Regions from separate parts of the Homo sapiens genome. Here regions 2 and 3 are each linked to region 1. Evidence: promoter capture Hi-C in 16 types of primary human blood cells and fetal thymus (Javierre and others, 2016). All regions are on one chromosome and are shown on one strand. The core of a region is centred on a gene start or on the middle of the fragment in contact, and the rest is flanking DNA. Distances in the headings are between cores, read along the strand shown.

Region 1 (3,151 bases), core at 293-2,792:
GCTCTTTCGCTTGATGGCGAAGTGACGCATGAGAACAAAAGTTGCGTTTATCTAACACCACACGTATACAGCACAAGAACAATATGATATTTGACTTCTGGTCATAAGCATGACTATAGGTAGGTAATTTAATCTTCATATAGTTCGTTTTCTCATTTTTAGCATTCTAAGATTGAACTAGATCACATTAAAAGATGTTGCCCCACATCCCTAAACTGGGAAAAGAATAAGGTTTTATTTATAAAAGTTCAAACCATAGACAGAAAGGCAATTAAACCCTGGAATGCGGAATCAAAAATATTGGTTTTGTTGCTTAAACTGAGTAAAATAACCTCTAGAAAAAGAAACTAACTACAGGACATTTTTGAAGCATAGGGGAATGACAGTGCAGTTCTAGTCCATGTTATTTTTCAAATTATGTTTCACTATTTCATAGGAAGTGAAAGTGCCTAAGCTGGAAGAAAAGAAAGCAAGTTAGCCTCTGCTGGGTAAAATAGAGAGGTAAGGTTTAAAATAAGAAACAAGATGCTTTTACAACCAGAAAAGGACACACACTAGATTCCTTTGATAACTATAAACTTTTGAAAATATAAAGAAGAAATACATTCCTTGGAAATACGAACAAAGTAGCAGATTCATTCCACAAGGGCAAATACAAAGGAGGAACTTTAAATTATTTAAAACACCTACATAAACTCTATGCTACAAAAATTCTTACCCTAGAGCAGAGAATGGAAATGTAACAAGACAGAGAAATTTCCTTAATACTTCAAAGAATAGAAAAGACACTGGCTATGAAAATCTATAATTTTTGAGGGGGTTTGGTGATGAAGGCACCATGTTAAGTTTAGGCATATGCTTATCGCCTCTGATTCCAGAAATATTCAATTACCTAGTCATTAATTCTAGACTTTATAAAATTAAATCTAACGTTTCATGTTTTCTTAAGTTTACATTTTTATCCTATTGATATTGTAAAAGAATAAATAACAATATGAGTAAATTGCCACAGGTATTTTTCCCAGTGGAGATGAATTTATCACATTATGTTAAAAGGTCAGATTTGATTGAGAGTGAGCAAAGCTGTGGAGCAGAAAGGCGTGATCCCGCTAGAAGTTGCTGTGTGAATATAAACATTCATCACGAGAAATCAAGAAATAGAAAGGCTATGAAAACAGAAGCAAAGTTCTACATATTAAAACCAAAGTGGCAATTTATTTTATGAACAGACATTTTGCTTCATTAAAAACATTCGCTCTTATTCTTAGCATTCAATGAATTTTGCTTTGAATCCAATCTCCTCTTTTCAGTTTGGCAATTAGATACATAAGAAAGAAATAAAGGAGATAACTAGTAAAATCTTAATTCTCAAAGGCACCCTAAATCCAGCTTACCAGATCTCTGAAGTGGAAACGCGAGTTCTAACGGGGAAGTCCGAACAGTTTTGATGTCAGCGTAGACTACATCTCCAGCCATTGCACAGATCAAAAAGAGAGAGAAGACCACAAATGATGTCCCACTGAAGGGACAATCATATTTCTGCAAAGAAACTTCTGATAAGTAAATTGAGATGGCAAATTTCCTTCTGCTCCCCAAGTGGGTGGTGGACTTCCTCCATGAATAAATGACAAAACCAATGTGTTCAGTCTTACTAATCAAGGTAGCAGATTTCTCGAATACTTGTATGACATGGAAGAAATTACTAACCATACAGTAGGTTCTCGTTTTTCAGTTAGTTTTCTGCCTAAACTTGAAATGCTTTTAACTTTTATTAATACCACAGAAGATATCTCACCATTTTCTCCTATAGACCACTTCCTCTTTTAGTTCAGGCATATATTCTCTGGCGGAAACTCTGAATTTCCAGCATCTTCTCCAAAGTAGGATAGCTATTTGGGAAACAGAACAAGAAAAAGAAGGGATTTTATTACGAAAGTTACAGAAAGGGGCCCTATGTCTTTTATCCTCCTCTCTAAATGCATTGTATTGTCTAGATAATACCTTAAAAATTCTGAAAGCTATTTGCTTTCCTGTATGCTTTATAATATTAACATTAAACTGAGGTAAAACATGAATTATGCAGAGGACTTCTGAACTAAAAAATATATATTTAAGAAACAGAAATAACTCTGTTAAAATAATTCAAGGTAATGACATAAAAGAAAAAAATCTAATTTTAAAATGAGGTGTTCAGAAATTTACTATCGAATACAACATAGCAAACATAGATTTTATCTCCTATTTCTTCTAAAATTCCACTAAAATTGAATTAAGTGAATAAAAATTTGTTAGTCTAAAACAATAACACAAAGGCTCAGGGTCCTATTAGTTGATGAAAAATTTCAACTAATTCCTGGAAAATGGAGAGTAGATGGAGATGTGATCATTGATGAAGAAGTAAAATCAGAGAAAAATGCAGCCAACACCATACAGAGGGAAATAATGGAGGAGAGCCTAGCTACCTGTGAAACCGTCATAGGACATAGAAATGTCAGATATGAAAAATGGCAGGATCCATTAGCTTATGACTAGTAGATTAACTGGAAATCTGCATATGGAAAAACTGGTTTTTTCAATACCCACTCAAGTGCATTCTGCAGAATTAATCTAAACTGCAGTCACCCCATCCCTACCCCTCATCCAAGAAATTTAACTTAGGTTAATTAAATAACTAGAGAACAGATCCTGGCTTTGTGGCATTTAGGGATCCCTCCTATAAAGACCAACTTCTGACCCTGGATGAGGCTTGAGCACCGACCTCTGTCTCTTAAGACTGCATGACACTCTCTCCCTTTTCTGGGCTGTTCCAACTGTTTGTATGTGACTAGACAATACCTACTACATACATGAAAAACTGACTTTTAGAGGTTTTATTATCTGCAGGTGGTTGCATAACCAATAATTTTTTTTTTTTTGAGACGGAGTCTCACTCTGTCACCCAGGCTGGAGTGCAGTGGCGCGATCTCGGCTCACTGCAAGCTCTGCCTCCCGGGTTCATGCCATTCTCCTGCCTCAGCCTCCCGAGTAGCTGGGACTACAGGCGCCCGCCACCACGCCCGGCTAATATTTTGTATTTTTAGTAGAGACGAGTTTCACGGTGGTCTCGATCTCCTGACCTCGTGATCTGCCCGCCTCAGCCTCCCAAAGGCAT
Region 2 (3,463 bases), core at 46-2,545, 77 kb after region 1:
GAGAAAATTGAGAGTTTAGCGAGATGAATTTTTTAAGTGTATTAAAATCTAAACTGAAGAAGTTAACAAGATGGGAAGAATTGCCTTTATTTGTAGATGTATGCAAGAGCACTAGGGGAAATTCAATGACCAACAAGCTCAAAATAAGATTGTGTGAAGTAATGAATTTTAGGTAAAATCAATACAAATATATCTAAAAAGAAAGGGTGGGACTTTTTTCCTCCATTCCTGGCCCAATTCTTTGAAATAATTTTTATGTGATTGTTTCAAACCATCTTAACTTTCTCTTAGTTTTCCTCTGCATACATGCACATATGTAAATGCCTACTTTTAAGAGTACAGATGAGAAAAAACAGGGATTTGAATTAGTTGAAACCGTAACTTAAGTATTATTTCCAGGAACTAAAGCTACTTAGCCAGAATCAGGAAAAGGGCTGCTGGGAATAAGTTTGTTAACGTAAATTGTTCCAACAGCTGTCATATTGATGTTACGCTTAGTTTACTGGCTCCAGAAGGCAGAATTGATACCAATTCTTGAAAGAAGCATCCATATACCCCAGTTAATTTTGATTATGTCATGAGATTTTGTGTAGTATTCAAAGATAAATTGTTATTATTGTTGGAAAAAGCGGGTTACTTAGATTTAAACTTAGGTTAAGAAAATTGATTTAAAAAAATAAGTTCCACTTTCAAAAGTTGTTATTCTATTGATAAATCTGTTTTTTTTAATGCTGCTTTATTTGATGTAAAACTACTGTTTTGAAAATATTGACTGTGCCTATGGATTAATGTATCAAACAAAATCACCCCATGAATAAATCAAATATTTATTTATTTACCTGAAGTATACAAAAGGAGAATGACATAAAGATCAATTAGCAAGGTTGATAAATCTGCAAGAAACAAGCTTCTCAGTCCTAAATTTCATCATTAAATCACTGAAACTCAGAGTTGTGAATGACAACATCTGAATAGTGAGTGTCAACATAGATTTTCTACAAGCTTGAGGGTTTTTATCTAGGAACAATTCTGTTTGTAGGTCATCCTGGATATATTCAAGGGACCATTATTTTTGGTATTATACAATATAACTTGATGTTCTCATAGTCAAATGTGAATGCATTTCTCATACTTTATCTGAATCCTCCCAAATTAACAATGTGGTCCAAGTATATTCCCAAAATTAGAGTTTCTGAGCCTGAACGGAAGTTAAGCTCCCAGAAATCGCAGGTAGCTGTGTTAATAAGTGGTTAGAATAACTAGGGCTTATCTTTTGTGTGTCCTTTGATAAATTTAAACAAATTAAATTCCTCTCCAAGATAGGTCTGATTCACAAACTTAATGACTATATGCTTAAATTTTCACCTATAGTTTAATGAAATGTTTGTTTTTAAAAGATGTTTGAAGTCTAAAATAGACTCCCCAAACAGTGTCTGACATGTAATAAGTCCTCAGAAAATAATTCATAAATATTGAATGACTAGTAGGATATTAAAATGTGGTCATTCCTGCTGTTTACTTTTATCTGAGGGCACAAATGTCAAGAACAATTCTATAGGTGCTAGACCTCCTATATAGGACATGCTAACAAGCTTGCAAAAGTGTTTATTTCAAATTTCGATCTATCATCTACTTTCAGAGCACATTAAGAGTTTATGAGTGTTCAGAGATTAGGAAGTGAGAATTTTTTTTATGAAGTGACTTGCCAGTGTACTTCCCATTTCCCAATATCTTTCTGTGTCAATAAGCAAAAGAACTTCTCTTTTACCTTAAGCCAAGTTTGGATTCTGTCATATATTGGCAAGTGTCCTCTGGGAGTTGGAGGTTGCAGAGGTGAACACTTTCAGTATGTGAGTTTGTTAGAACTACACATAACCACAGAGTAAAAGCAGATGTGTAGATTAAGCCACACTTCCAGCAATGGTGAGGCTGAAGGGAGTGTTTCCTGTGGGCCGGATGAAGATCTCATACAAAGCAGCCATTTGGGAACCATCCTAAAATAAAATTCACCTAAGACTGCTTCTTACCACAGGCAAGTCAGCCTCAATGAAAAGAAGCTGGAAGTATAGAGTAGAAAGCAAAAAAAAAAAAGGTACCTGGGGAGTTGTGAGGGGTGAGGTACAGTGATTTGCAAGCAGGATTGCCAAAGGAGACATCACACATCAGACAACTGCAGAGTACCCCAGGAGCAGAATTTCTGAAAAACCCATAGAAGTAGTCCAAAAAAAAAAAAAAAAAGAGAGAAAACATTTGGAGTGTCAGCATACAGATTAAAACTGTCCAGGCTGGTAACATCTTTATTCCGTGTTTATTTCTATTCCCTTTGTTTCACCTTCACTCATTCTGGGGATCAGGGTTGGGGAATGGAAAGAGATACTAGAGAGGGAAGAAGCTCATGCAGAGCCCGTTATACTCACTTGCCCCCTTAATGGTCCCAAACTAAGCAGATCCAATCCAAGCTGAGAGAGAGGAAAAGTGTTAAATTAGATAAAAGTTGGACTTAAGATATTAGGCGGAATTGGATCTTTTATTATCTTCATTATCAAAAGACCATGAGATCCACAAAGGAAGGAAAGGAGAAGACTTTATTTTCAGAGGGAAAAATAACCCTAGAATTAGGGAAATGCAGCTTTCGGGAAAATCCGAAAGTTCACTCTCTGAAGAAGTGAGAGGGGGCTGGTATACATGTCTTATACAGTCAGTTTTACATACATACTGAGCAGGGTTGGGAAAATTCTGTGAATACTTATGAATATTCATGAAGGAAGTCAAGCACTAGTGCATTGGGTAAGCAGATGTAACATGCACCCCACGGTCACTTTGGGATGGTGTTTTAACATTAAATCGGGTGGAATTTGGCTCTTTACCTCAAAAGGTGAACTATAGCGTACAAAAATAGTTTGTACATAATCTCCACAAGCTGTCTGTAACTGGTTTAAGGTCTGTGGCCATTCATCAATAAAGAATGTTTATAAGATTGGGTCTGGCCGGGCGCGGTGGCTCACGCCTGTAATCCCAGCACGTTGGGAGGCCGAGGCGGGCGGATCATGAGGTCAGGAGATCACGACAATCCTGGCTAACATGGTGAAACCCCGTCTCTACTAAAAATACATAAAATTAGCCAGACGTGGTGGCGGGCGCCTGTAGTCCCAGCTACTCGGGAGGCTGAGGCAGGAGAATGGTGTGAATCCGGGAGTCAGAGCTTGCAGTGAGCCCAGATTGCACCACTGCACTCCAGCCTGGGCGACAGAGCGAGACGCCGTCTCAGGAAAAAAAAAAAAAAAAAAAAAAAGATTGGGTTCTTTTTCCAATCTGAGTTATGGTAGGACAGTCTGACTTATGGCAGGACAGCAAGGCTGGGGAGAAGGTTGTCCGCTGGCATCAGGCAATCTGTCAAGATATTTTGGAAATTTCCCAGCTATGGTTGTTTTGGCAATGCTTTTCAGTATTTCCTTCCTGTTTA
Region 3 (3,137 bases), core at 542-3,041, 110 kb before region 1:
CTGCAATTTGATCTTTAGTATTGCGGTGAGGTGTGGGGAGAGGGAAGTAAGACTAGATCTCAGATTTGTAGTGAGGCCTCTGGACTGCGAGCTTCACAAATGTTTCTATTTTCTTTTCCATCCCACTTAGGCGGGAAAGGATGGCTAGAGTGGTCTGAAGTTGGATATTTCTCTTCTCCCATGTGGAAGGCTAGAGCTGACTAGAGTTGTATAACGCTTCTTCTAGGTCAGTTAGACTCTTAATAATGCCCCAGCAATGTAGGTCCTGGTTTACTATTGTCTCCTGAGGGCAGAACCTTTTTAAGAAGAACACAGTGTAAGAAAAAAAAATGAAGAAGAAGAAGAAGAAAGAAGAAGAACACAGTGCTCTGGCATATTTTAAAATTATTCCTTTCTCCCCCTACTAGAAGCATGAGAGGGTTTTTCTCTAATATTTTCTGTGAGAACCTGGTCAAGTTCCCAGAGGTAAATCTCACAAAATTGTGGGATCCTCATATGACTGGGTCCCCCTGGAGTTTTTAACTCTCAAAGTTGCCTGCACTGTGCCTCCAGCACCTCATCCATTATAGTCCGTGTTTTCCTCTCCCAGCTCTTGCTCTCATGATAGTTTCTCTTCCTGTATTTTCCCGTCTGCCTCTTCAAACCTGGGTGCAGGCATTTGCTGTTTCTTCAGTGCTCTTACATATCCTAGAAGAGTTGTTGATTTGTCAGTCTGTTCAACTTTTCCTCGTATTTAATCTGAAGTGGCAACTTCCAAGCACCTTATAGGCAGAACTGGAAACTGGAAGTTTTTTCTCATTGTGGTTTTGACTTAAATTTTCCTGATGATTAGTGAAGTTGAGCAACTTTTTATATTCCTGTTGGCCACTTACATGTTATCTTACATGAAAGAAACTTACATGAAAGAAACATCTATTCAATTTCTTTGCCCATTTTTTAATCAGGCCATTTGATTTTTGCTTATGAGACATAAGAGTTCTTTGTATATTCTGGATATTAATCTCTTATCAAATTTTAGAAATGAAAATCTTTTCTTCTATTCCACACATTGCCTTTTCGCTCTGTTTTCTTGGACGGAGTCTCACCCTGTCATCCAGGTTGGAGTGCAATGGCGCCATCTTGGCTCACTGCAATCTCTGCTTCCCGGATTCAAGCGATTCTCCTGCCTCAGCATCCCAAGTAGCTGGGATTACAAGCACATGCCACCACACCTGGCTAATTTTTTGTATCTTTAGTAGAGACAGGGTTTCACCATGTTGGCCAGGCTGGTCTCCAACTCCTGACCTCAGGTGATCTGCCCACCTTGGCCTCCCAAAGTGCTGGGATTACAGGCCTGAGCCACTGCACCTGGCCTCTTTTCACTCTGTTGATTGTGTCCTTTGTTGCACAAAAGTTTTTAAGATTCATATAGTCTCATTTACCTATTTTTGCTTTCATTACCTGTGTTTTTAGTGTCATATCCAATAAATCATTGTCAAGTCCAGTGTCATGAAGCTTTCCCTATATGTTTTCTTATAGGAATTTTATAAATTTAGGTTTTATGTTTAAGTCATTAATATATTTTGAGTTAATGGTGTAAAATAAAGGCCCAACTTCATTCTTTTGCATGTAGATATCCAGTTTTTTCAATATCAGTTGTTGAAGAGACTGTTTTTCCCCACTGAGTGGTCTTGGCATCCTTGTCAAAGATCATTTGACCACATGCATGAAAATTTAATTTATAGGCTGTGTATTCTATTCAACTGGTCTATTTGTTTTTGTGCTAGTACCACACTACTTTGATTATCATAGATTTGTAATATGTTTTGAAATCAGGAAATGTAAGTCCTCCAACTTTGTTCTTTTTCAAAATTGTTTTGACTATTCGGAGTCCTTTTATATACCAAATGAATTTCAGGATACATTTTTCTATTTCTCCAAAAGATCCCATAAGGATTTTGATAAGGATTGCATTGACTCTGTAGGTCACTTCGGACATTATGAACAATGTAACAATATTAAGTTATCTAATCCATGAACACAGGATATCTTTCATTTATTAGTGTCTGCTTTAATTTCATTCAGCAACGTTTTATGGTTTGCAGTGTACAAGCTTCTCATCTCCTTGGTTAGGTTTATTCCTAAGCTTTTTATTGTTTTGAGTGAAATTGTAAATGGATTTGTTTTCTTAATTTCCTTTTTGGATTGTTCATTATTCATGTATAGAAATGCAACTGATTTCTGTGTGTTGGTTTTGTACCTTGCAACTTTGCTTAATTCATTTATTAGTTCTAACAGATTTTTATTGTGTATGGAATCATTAGAGTTTTCTATGTATACGATTTTGTCCTCTGTAAACAGAGATTATTTACTTCTTCTTTTCCCATCTGGATGCCTTTTATTTCTTTTTATTGCTTAATTGTTCTGGCTATAATTTTCAGTTCTATGTTGAATAGAAGTAGTAAGAGTGAGCATCTTTGCCTTGTTTCTGATATTAGAGAAAAAGCTTTCAGTCTTTTATCCTTGTGTATGATGTTATCTGTGGCCTCTTTATAAATGGTCTTAATTGTGTTCATGGACTGGCCTTCTCTTCCCATTTTATTAAGTGTTTTAACATGAAAGAGTGTTTAATCTTGTCAAATGATATTTCTCCACTGATTGAGATAATCGTGATTTTTGTCCTTTATTCTGTTAATGTGTTATATTACATTGTTTTTTTCTTTTTTTCTTACTTTTTTTTTTTTTTTAATGAGACAGGGTCTCACGCTGTCACCCAGGCTGGAGTGGAATGGCACTATCTTGACTCACTACAGCCTTAATCTCCTGAGCTCAAGCAATCCTCTCACCTCAGGCTCCTGAGTAGCTGGGACTACAAGTATGTACCACCACGCCTGGCTAGTTTTCATATTTTTTTATACATATGGGGTTTTGCCATGTTGCCCAGGCTGGTCTTGAACTCTTGAGCTCAAGCAATCCACCCACCTCCACCTCACAAAGTGCTGGGATCACAGGCATGAGCCATTGCACCCATAGATTGATTTTCATATGCTAAACTCTCCTTGCATTCCTGGAGTAAATCCCATTTGGTTATCATATATGATTCTTTTAATATGCTATTTAATTTGGTTTGCTAGTATTTTGTTGAGGATTTTTGCATT

Evidence for each region. The method cuts DNA at HindIII sites, captures the fragments that hold promoters and counts their contacts. A CHiCAGO score of 5 or more calls a contact.
Region 2: a fragment that was not itself captured here is called in contact with the fragment with the promoter of CLECL1 in region 1 in 1 of 17 cell types (total B cells); the score reaches 5.4 in total B cells.
Region 3: a contact is called between a fragment that was not itself captured here and the fragment with the promoter of CLECL1 in region 1, in 8 of 17 cell types (total B cells, total CD4 T cells, non-activated CD4 T cells and 5 more). The highest score is 15.2, in total B cells.

What each region holds. Positions count from the first base shown.
Region 1 is chr12:9,731,555-9,734,705 of GRCh38, forward strand. It overlaps CLECL1 (C-type lectin like 1), which reads right to left and starts at 1,543. Exons shown (of 2, transcript NM_001441815.1): 1 at 1,395-1,543. The coding sequence starts at 1,476. The HindIII fragment of the contact is 6,540 bases long and covers 1-3,151 here.
Region 2 is chr12:9,809,099-9,812,561 of GRCh38, forward strand. It overlaps a transcript of KLRF1 not described here. Among named protein-coding and RNA genes, the nearest start is that of KLRF1, 17 kb to the right of the region's middle. The HindIII fragment of the contact is 590 bases long and covers 1,001-1,590 here.
Region 3 is chr12:9,619,583-9,622,719 of GRCh38, forward strand. It overlaps the pseudogene LOC374443. Among named protein-coding and RNA genes, the nearest start is that of KLRB1, 13 kb to the left of the region's middle. The HindIII fragment of the contact is 598 bases long and covers 1,493-2,090 here.